Regions from separate parts of the Homo sapiens genome. Here all the other regions are linked to region 2. Evidence: promoter capture Hi-C in human tissues and cell types (Jung and others, 2019). All regions are on one chromosome and are shown on one strand. Each heading gives the region's core, a stretch centred on a gene start or on the middle of the fragment in contact. The rest is flanking DNA. Distances are from core to core; before and after follow the strand shown.

Evidence for each region. The method cuts DNA at HindIII sites, captures the fragments that hold promoters and counts their contacts. A contact is called where the count stands out against the background at its distance.
Region 1: a fragment that was not itself captured here is called in contact with the fragment with the promoter of KMT2A in region 2 in 3 of the 25 tissues and cell types used here (IMR-90 fibroblasts, dorsolateral prefrontal cortex and spleen).
Region 3: a contact is called between a fragment that was not itself captured here and the fragment with the promoter of KMT2A in region 2, in 1 of the 25 tissues and cell types used here (spleen).

Annotation. Positions count from the first base shown.
Region 1 is chr11:118,172,905-118,175,686 of GRCh38, reverse strand. The region is part of intron 1 of SCN2B (sodium voltage-gated channel beta subunit 2); the gene reads left to right. Among named protein-coding and RNA genes, the nearest start is that of SCN2B, 2.3 kb to the left of the region's middle. The HindIII fragment of the contact is 3,855 bases long and covers 1-2,782 here.
Region 2 is chr11:118,435,110-118,437,810 of GRCh38, reverse strand. KMT2A (lysine methyltransferase 2A) reads right to left here and starts at 1,319. Exons shown (of 36, transcript NM_001197104.2): 1 at 867-1,319. The coding sequence starts at 1,298. RefSeq lists enhancers at 1-350, 351-1,349, 2,011-2,150, 1,350-2,347 and a silencer at 1,221-1,700. The HindIII fragment of the contact is 10,858 bases long and covers 1-2,701 here.
Region 3 is chr11:118,008,307-118,011,373 of GRCh38, reverse strand. All of the region lies in intron 4 of SMIM35 (small integral membrane protein 35), which reads left to right. Among named protein-coding and RNA genes, the nearest start is that of IL10RA, 23 kb to the right of the region's middle. RefSeq lists enhancers at 139-639, 785-884 and a silencer at 1,409-1,458. The HindIII fragment of the contact is 3,617 bases long and covers 1-3,067 here.

The sequences.
Region 1 (2,782 bases), core at 99-2,598, 260 kb after region 2:
AGGTTGCAGCCCTTTAAATCCAGCCTCAGAACTGCCCAGCCCAGTCTTGCAGACTGTCCTGTCAAGTGTTTGTATTTGACCACTCAGAGACTTCCTGGTGGGGAAGTGGGCTAGAAAGTTATTTGCAAGCCTGCTTTGTAGAGTTTCATTCTTGCTCCTAAACTTACTTATTGCTGGAGCAGCAACTGAGAGTCAAGTCCAAGGACTGTTGATGGAACTATTCCCCACCACAAAGGCTCTCTCTCTTTCTGTGGTGTGATGTGCTGGGTTTGGAGTAGGAGTGCTAAACACAGACAGTGCAGAGGCCCTGCCAGCCTGCTTTGCTGAGTTACTTGGCATATTAACATCAGAGCAGGAATGCTATGGAATCTCTGGCAGGACCTGGGTTTCAAGCCACCTTTGTCATTTACGTAATGATCACAGGCAAGTTACTCAACCCCTCTGAGCTTCAGTTCCCTCCCGGGTAAACTAAAGAATGCCTACTGCCTGACGTGTTTGTGATTTGGTGCATGGCAGGAACTCAACGATGGCTAACATAAGAATGCTTTTCGTGAGCCCAGGCACTGTGTATCTTGTTTAGCCCTCACAGCAATCGGAGGTAGATTCTATTATACTCAGGTTACAGGGAGGAAACAGATGACTATGGTAACGGGAGCTGAAATTTGAACTCCCTGTGTCTGACTTCAGCACATTCTCTTAAACGTTGGATTCCACTCCCCAATGTTCAAGAAATGGCACTGCTATATTAACAGTACCTAATTGATCAGAGTCTCAGGACAGGCTGAAAGAAGGGGAGTTGGGTGAGTGGCCTGTTGTAAGGAGGCCCAGCTGGAGGACAGGACCCTTTCCTCAGGAGTTAGGAAGCACTTCGTGCAGGAGAGAAGCCGCCTGGTGAGAGCCATGGCTAAGTAAAGATAGAAAGGGGGCTCAGTGACCAGGACCCAGAGCTCTGGGCTAGGGTGAGGAAGAGGGAGTCTGCGATGAAGAGGTCTGAGTGTTTGGGGTGGGGAGATGGTAGTGGGAGGAAGCTAAAGCTTCTGCAAAGCTGAGTGGGAGAGGATGCAGGAATGGGGACCTTGAACTTGAACTTGATTGGTGCTGTAATGAGGCATGTCCCTGGCACTCCAATGCTGAGGGCCGAGTTGACAGTGGAACTTTGGTGGTGTTGCAGTAGCATCGATCCCCAGGATGGAGGATGCCACAAGTGACGAGGGAGGGGACTCTGTCGGGGCTGGGCTTGTGGGGATGACTATGGAGGTGGCAAAGAGAAAGGGCAGGTGGGCAACCAGCTCTACCCACGGCAGAAGCATATGAGGCTAGTTTTAGCCAGAAACAATTCAAATGACTGGGCTTCCCTCAAGTTTTTCTTGAGACCGTTGACTCCACAGTCACTGGCCTGCTTACCAATGTATGGATTATGTTAGTGGAGGCATAGAAAGTGGAGTCTGGGCTGAGCATGGTGGCTCACGCCTGTATCCCAGTGCTTTGGGAGGCCGAGGTGGGAGGATCGCTTGAGGCCAGGAATTGGAGACCAGCCTGGACAACATAGCAAGACCCTGTCTCTACAAAAAAAAAAAAAAAAAAAAAAAAAAAAAGAAAAGAAAAATAAGCCAGGCATGGTGGCATGTACCTGTAGTCCTAACTGTTCCAGGAGGCTGAAGAAGGAGTATCAAGAGTTCCAGGCTGCAGTGAGCCGTGATCATGCCTCTGCACTCCAGCGTGGGCAGCAGAACCAAACCCTGTCTCTTAAAAAAAGAAAGAAAGAAAGAAAGAAAGAAAGTGAAGTCTAGTCCTCACTCTAGCCCACTGCACATATCTGCTGCTTGTGGTGGTGGGGACCCAGACATGGAGAGAAAGCTGTCTCTTCTTCCTTTAGTAGACTTTATTGAGTCCCCACTCTGCCACACACTGTCCTGGGTGCCAGGGATACCAAGATGAATAGGAGTCAGTTCCCCGGAGCCTCTAGAGGGAAACAGGCCCATGAACAAATAATAACAAGACAACATTGTATGTATGGCAACAATAATAGCAATAATGCTCATCATAGTCGCAGCTGACTTTTGTCCAGGCCATGTGCTAGGCACTGTGCTGAGCTTCATACAGGTAGTAAGTCATTTAATCCTTCGACAGCCCTATGAAGTTGGGCTTATTGTCCCCTATATTACAGATGAGGAAACTGAGGCACTGGGAGGTTAACTATCCTGCCATTCTGCCCTCAAGTCATGTGGAAGAGATAGGAACAGGGCTGGGGTGAGGACAAGGACAATGGGGAAACAGTCACCGAGGCTAATGCCCTGTAAGCTGGGACCTGAAGAATAAGTAGGAGGGGCCCAGGGGCAGGAGGGCAAATGAGCTTCTCAACCTGAAGCAAAAATACGTGCAAAGGCATGGAGAAGGGAAGGAAGGTGGTGTTTTCAGAAAAAATCAGAACTGGGGTCACTGGAGTGAAGGAGACCTGGGGGGATGGGGGCTGGCAGGGGATGAGGCTAGGGTATAGGTTGGTCCCAGATGCCAAAGGGCTTGGAAGCTGTGCCCAGGAGCCTGGACTTGATCCTGAAAGCAGTGGGTAGCCGTTGGAGGTCTGGAGGTGAGGAGTGATGAGGGTGGGTTGCTCCTGGCTGCACGGGGATGGACTGGAGTGGCCGGGGTTGGGGAGGCCCTTGAGCAGGAAGGGTCTGGATGGTAAGGCAGTGCAGGTGCGGAGATACGGGCTGGATGCCACACTCACCTGGGAGGCAGGGGCTGCCCCGGGAGACAGTTCATCTGTTTAGACACTTAAAAA
Region 2 (2,701 bases), core at 70-2,569:
CAGTGGACTATTTTCCCCTCCAAGATGCCACTAATCCTTCATTCTAAAGGAGGGAAAGGGTGGAGTGAAGGTAGAGTAATTCCCGGCTACCAATAGGCTAGAAACTGTAGCCCTGTAAGACGGGGCGGGGGGGGGAAGAGACTGCTGTATGAGGAATCACCGTTATCTTCAGAGGGAAAGGAGGTGAGACCAGGCAAGGTGCAGAGGAGAGATTTTCCCCGGTGGGGTAGGGCGGGATGGGGGAGGATCGGTCTGCTTGGGGTGGGGGTAGAGGGTGGAGGTGAAGGAAGGGGGAGTGGCTGGCAGTATAGGGACCTGGCCCGGGGATGGCGCGAGGGTTCATCGGGTTTTCGAAAGCAAGGTGCTGGAAGGGACACGATCCCCAAGGGCCAGGAGAACGTGGCCCTGGATGAGGCCATCACCCGAGAGACGCCCGAGAGGAAAACTGCCCTAGGAGTAACACATCTGCCCAGAGAGGGAGGCGGGGATGTGGCGGGATCAGGTCTCTAGGAGGGAGGGAGGGAGGAATCTTGCTCGGATGAGGTAATCTGTGAAAGGGAGGAGGGGTTCAGTCCCGGGATGGGAAACCCCGGCGAGGGGGTCTGTGCCAAGGGATTTGGGGAAGGGTCAGGGGGAGGAGAGCGGGGGGCAAACGCCCTCAGCCAGATGGGCCCAAACCCCGGGGTGGGGGCGCCTGGGGGTCTGCAGCCCTGCATGGGGGTCCCAAGATGGGAGAGCCATTCGCCCCGGGTCAGGGACCCCGAGATGGTCCCAGAATTGGGATGCTCCTCAATCCCGGATGGGGGAGGGGAGGGGGCTCCGCAGAGGGTCGAGACCCCGGACCTGGGGGTTCCTCGCCCCCTTACCTCTCCGCTGCCGCCTCCCCCGCCGCTCTCCCCAAACACGGCCCGGAACCGGCGCAGGTTGGTGCCGATGGCGGCCGAGACCTGCAGCGCCGCGTCGAAGCCCGGGCCCACCCGGAGCAGGGCCGGCCCTGAAGAGGCTGAGGACGATGACGAAGACGAAGACGAGGCGGACGACGAGGAGGCTGCTGAGGCGGCGGCCGCTCCCCCTGGAACCCCAGCCCCGCTGCTTCCCGCCGCCGCCGCCGCGGCCGCCACAGCCGGGGGGGAGGGGGGCGCCCCGGGGCCGCCACCGCCGACCGGGGGCCCGGGGGGAAGCAGCAGGGCCGGGACGCGTTGCCGCGGGGCGCCCCCTAGGCCCCGGCGCCCCCCGCCGCCGCCGCCCCCGGTGGTCCCGGGTCGGGCGGGGAAGCGCCACCGACAGCTGTGCGCCATGTTCGCCCCGTGAAGTGAAGCAGCGAGAGGGAGAGGCGACAACACAGGGGGGCGGGGAGGCGGAGGGGGGGGCACGGGGCCCCGGAACCTGCCTAACCAGCTCTGCGCCGCCCGGCCGCCTGCACCCTGCCGGCCGCTATGCAGAGCGCCGGGCCGCGCCCGCCAGCCCCGCAATCTGTATAGCGGCCTCGGGCCTCCGCCTCTGACGCCTGGGCGCTGCAACTCCATCCCGAGGCCCGGGCCGCCGCCTCCTGCCCGCCCGCCGGCCCCGCAACCTGGATAACTGCATGCCCCGCCCTCCGGGAGAGGCATTGCTCGGGAAAAGGAGGGGGGAAGGAAGCCCGGGAGCCCGGAGCAGAGCGCGGGTTCCGGAGAGAGGGGGAGGGGGCGAGGACTACGCGGAGGATGGAGGCGTAGGGAGCCGGGCCGCCTGCAGCCTTGAGCGCCGAGAGGCCGATTACACACGTTCCCGGGACGCGCTGGGAATCGAACAGCCCGGGAGAGCAGCTTCCAGTATAACGCGGCGGCTGGGTCGGGGAGCAGTGAGCCTTCTCCTCCGCCCCAGGGCACGGATACAAGATGGGTTAGCCCGAATTGAACGCTTCTAGAATAAAAGAGCCCTTATTGTACTACATGCAAAACAGAAGCGCTGCCCAGTTTACTATATGCAAAACAGAAAGGCCCTCAATGAACGCACTTTAAAAAATAAAAAAGGAGCCCCTCCCATTTTCATGCTGGAGCTCTTTCCAAAAAGCACACACCGAGTGGCAGGTCTCCTGCCACCTCCTCGCTCTACTGTGCACTCGTCTGGCTTTCGTGCCCTTCTGCAGGGAGTTGGGTTGTGTTTCTCCAGCCCGGGCACTGAGGCCACGGCGTGCTCCGCTAACGACGCGGTGTTACAACGAAGCTGAAGCTGGGTGGCTAACGGGGCCTGGAGGGAAGAGGCGGGCAAAAGCGCCCCCGCCCCTTCTTCCTCCGGTCTCTGCCTGCCGCTGCATGCAAAGCAGACCCTAATGTATGCACGCAGAGGGAGGGGGGCTCGCGAGCACGTTTCTGATTAAGAGAGGGGGAGGAGGAGAGCGTTGGGCATTATGATACACTGGGTGGAAGGGGCCCGCCGGCGGCGAGCTCTGTGCGCGGGGTTAGTAAGCTGAGGGGGGAGGGGGAAAGAAGGAGGCGAGTTAGGGAGGGGAATGAATATCCACCGGGTTTACTTTATTGCGGGAAAGAGGGGAGGGCGCCTCGAGCATAGCGTTAGACGCCTGCAAGGCTGGGAAAGCCGAGAGGGTAGGGAGGGGTTTGTGTCGGGAGAACTTGCGTTGGCTGAGGCTGGGGGATCGATACACAGCCTGCAGGCCCCGGGGCAGCCTCCATCCCCCAAGCCGAGGGGGAGTTCGCTGGAA
Region 3 (3,067 bases), core at 153-2,652, 430 kb after region 2:
GCAGGGATCCTGGGTCTGCAGTCCATGCCCGGCCACCCTAGGCCCCCGGAAGTGCTCAGAACTCAGTAGCCTTGGGGAATCTTGAAAGGGAGGATGGGACCCAGGACCCAGGTGGCCCTGGCCCCAGGTCTGTGGCTTCAGGTGAGGAGACGGGGACAGCTGCCCGGGGCTGGGAGCACGGAGGGTATTTCCCATCCTCGGGAGCAGAACTGATACTGGGCGACTTCCTCTTTTAGGGCCCTCTGACGCACCCTCTGTCCCCTCAGCCTCCCCCTCTTTTCCTTACTTCCGCAGGCTACTGGCGAGCACAGCTTTCTTCACCCTTGGGGCCTGGGCCTTACCCCTGGACTTTGCGTGTTTCTGTTGAGGGCTCTAAAGGGCAGATTCCAGCTTGTTTAGAAACGATTCGGGAGCAGATGCCTGGAAACCCAGCCACAGGTTTGGCTGAGCCAGGCACTGGCTGGGACCCAGATCATAGCAGTGCCAGAGCCTCTCCCAACACCTTCCCGCTACCTTTTTACGGTTCTTCTTTCCACTGGCCCTAAGAGCCCAGAGGCAGTCACGGGGGCTGGGGGTCCAAGGGCTGGCTGGTCCGGGTTCCCCTGCCACGCTTTGGTGCCTTCTCTGGGGCTATTCTCCAGCCTGGGTGGCCTCTTGTCCCTGCAGCCCCTCCCCTCCTGGCCATATCTAGTCTCTGTGAGATGGCCCAAGTCCGTCTTTGCTGTGACTTCGCTCAGGGCTTGAGACTTGACACCAACCATTTTGATCTGAATTGCAGGTGGCCACATTTCCTCCATTTGTGCTGTTCCTCAACCAGGCTGAACCCTCTGCCAACAAAGTTATGTTCCATAGGTCTTTAGTAACTCCTAAAACTGGAGCGTGCTGGAGGAGGTCAGTGACTACTTGCCGAGTAGAGAAGAGACACCCAATGTAGCCACAGAAGGCTGCTTTGTCCTAGAAAATTGATCAAAATCATGATGAGGCTGGGAGGCGAAGAGGGAGCTTTTCTCTCCTCTAAGTTCTCCTTGAAGTCTTAATGATCTCGTCCCATGCCAGTGGCATTGGAGGGGGCCAGGTGCCAGGAGCCAGGAGGGCAGTGTCTCTGGTGCCCCTCTCTCTGCTTCAGGAGTCTGAGAAACTCAAAGTAGGAGCAGATGGGAGGATCATTATTATCTTTTTAAAAACTGCTTAGTGATCAAAAGGAGGAGCAGAGACTGTTTGCACAGTTCACAGTCCACAGAACACAAAGCCTTTTCTTGCATGGTACTGCATTTTGAGCCTTATGTCAAGCTTGAGACACAGGGATTATTCTTGGTCCCGTTTTACATATGGGGGCACTTGGGTCAGAAAAGCAGCATGCTTTACCCAAGTTCCACAACTGGCTACTGGCTGCACCAGAGCTGAGCAGAGTCTGCACCCTCACGGATGTAGCTGACATCAGGGCGTAAGGATGAGAACTGAATGTAGTATAAGGTCTGGTTCTGACCCTGCCCTGATGTGCTGTGTGGTCATGGGCTACTTACTCCACCTCTTTGGACATCTATTTCAGCATCTGGAATCAAAAGATTGGACTATTTTTCCAAGGCTTCTCCTGGTTCTTACCTGTAGGAGAGCAAAGACCTCATCTACTTTTTTTTTTTTTTTTTTTAAAGCGTCTGCATTCTCAGTTCTTAGCGTATAGCCTGGTCCATAGTAGGTGCTCAGTAAACAATTAAAAGATGCAAGTACAAAGTGTCAATATATCTTTCTAATTTAGGAGATGGCAGTTGAAAGGTGATGGCTGCAGTTCCCTAGTGGTCTAGGATTCTAAGCATTACTTAGCCTTTCCTTGACTCTGCGTGTGTCTGACCAGGTTCCAAGTCTGGCCCATTCCCAACCAACTTTACCTGTAGGGTGAAACGCTAACATTTGCTGAGCACATATCAGTGCAGGGCAGAGGCTTATGATGCGCGTCTTCATCCTCACAGCCTCACAGGTGAGGGAACAGAGGCCCAGAGTGCCGTGAAGTGATTTGTTCAAGGCCAAGCAAGAATCTATTTTCTTTATAGTCCTTTGTCACCCACTTCTAGCCTCAGTCCAAACTGGCAGCTATCCTAACATCCTTGGCCCCCAAGAACATACTCCTCCCTCCAGATGGTCTCTAATCTCTTTTTGGGGTCTCCTTGTGTGGTGAGAAGGGCGCTCAGGAGCCCAGTCCTCCCCAGGCCCCATCCTCAGCTCTGAGCTTCCCACTGACCCACTCCTCTTTCTTCCTTTTGTTTTTTTAGAACTTCCTTGACCTCCAAATCACCAAATTCTGCCCATTCTTCATGCCAGCTCAAATTTCCCTTCTCCAGGGAGACTTCTGTAAGACCCATGGATCTTGTGCTCTGCTGATTTTAAATACAGATAGTCTCAGGCCCCCATAACTTTATTATTGATTATTTCTTTGCATTCATTTATTCACGCTGCTTCCATAACATGCCAGGAACTATGCTAGGCACCATGGGGGCATCCAGTCTCCCTGAAATTAACCTTGCTTTCTCCTATTTGATGGGCATTTCTTGCAGGCAGAATCAGGTTTTAAACCTCTTCTGAGTTCTCCACGGTACTTTGCATGGCTCTGGCCATAGCCAGGAACTTCTCAGGAAATTGTGTTGAAATCTCTCTTCAGAACATCTTGGGCATTGCTTCATCCCTGGTGCAATCCTAGGTGCTCTGAAAACCAAAACTTTTGATCTCTCCCCATCCTTGACTACATTCAACCTTGTGCTCATGATCAGTTACATTTCTGAGAGAGAGCACACAGATGACGATTTTTCTATCTTAAAGGATAACCTAAGGAATGATCAAAACCGTGACAAGGCTGGCAGGTGAAGAGGGAGCTTTTCTCTCCTCTAGGTTCTTCTTCAAATCTTAATGGTCTTGTCCCATGCCAGTGGCATTGGAGGGGGCCTGGTGCCAGGAGCCAGGAGGCCAGAGTCTCTGGTGCTCCACTCTCTGCTCCAGGGGTCTGAGAAACTCAAAGTGGGAGCAGATGGGAGGATCATTATTATATTTCTAAAAACTGCTTAGTGATCTAAAACCA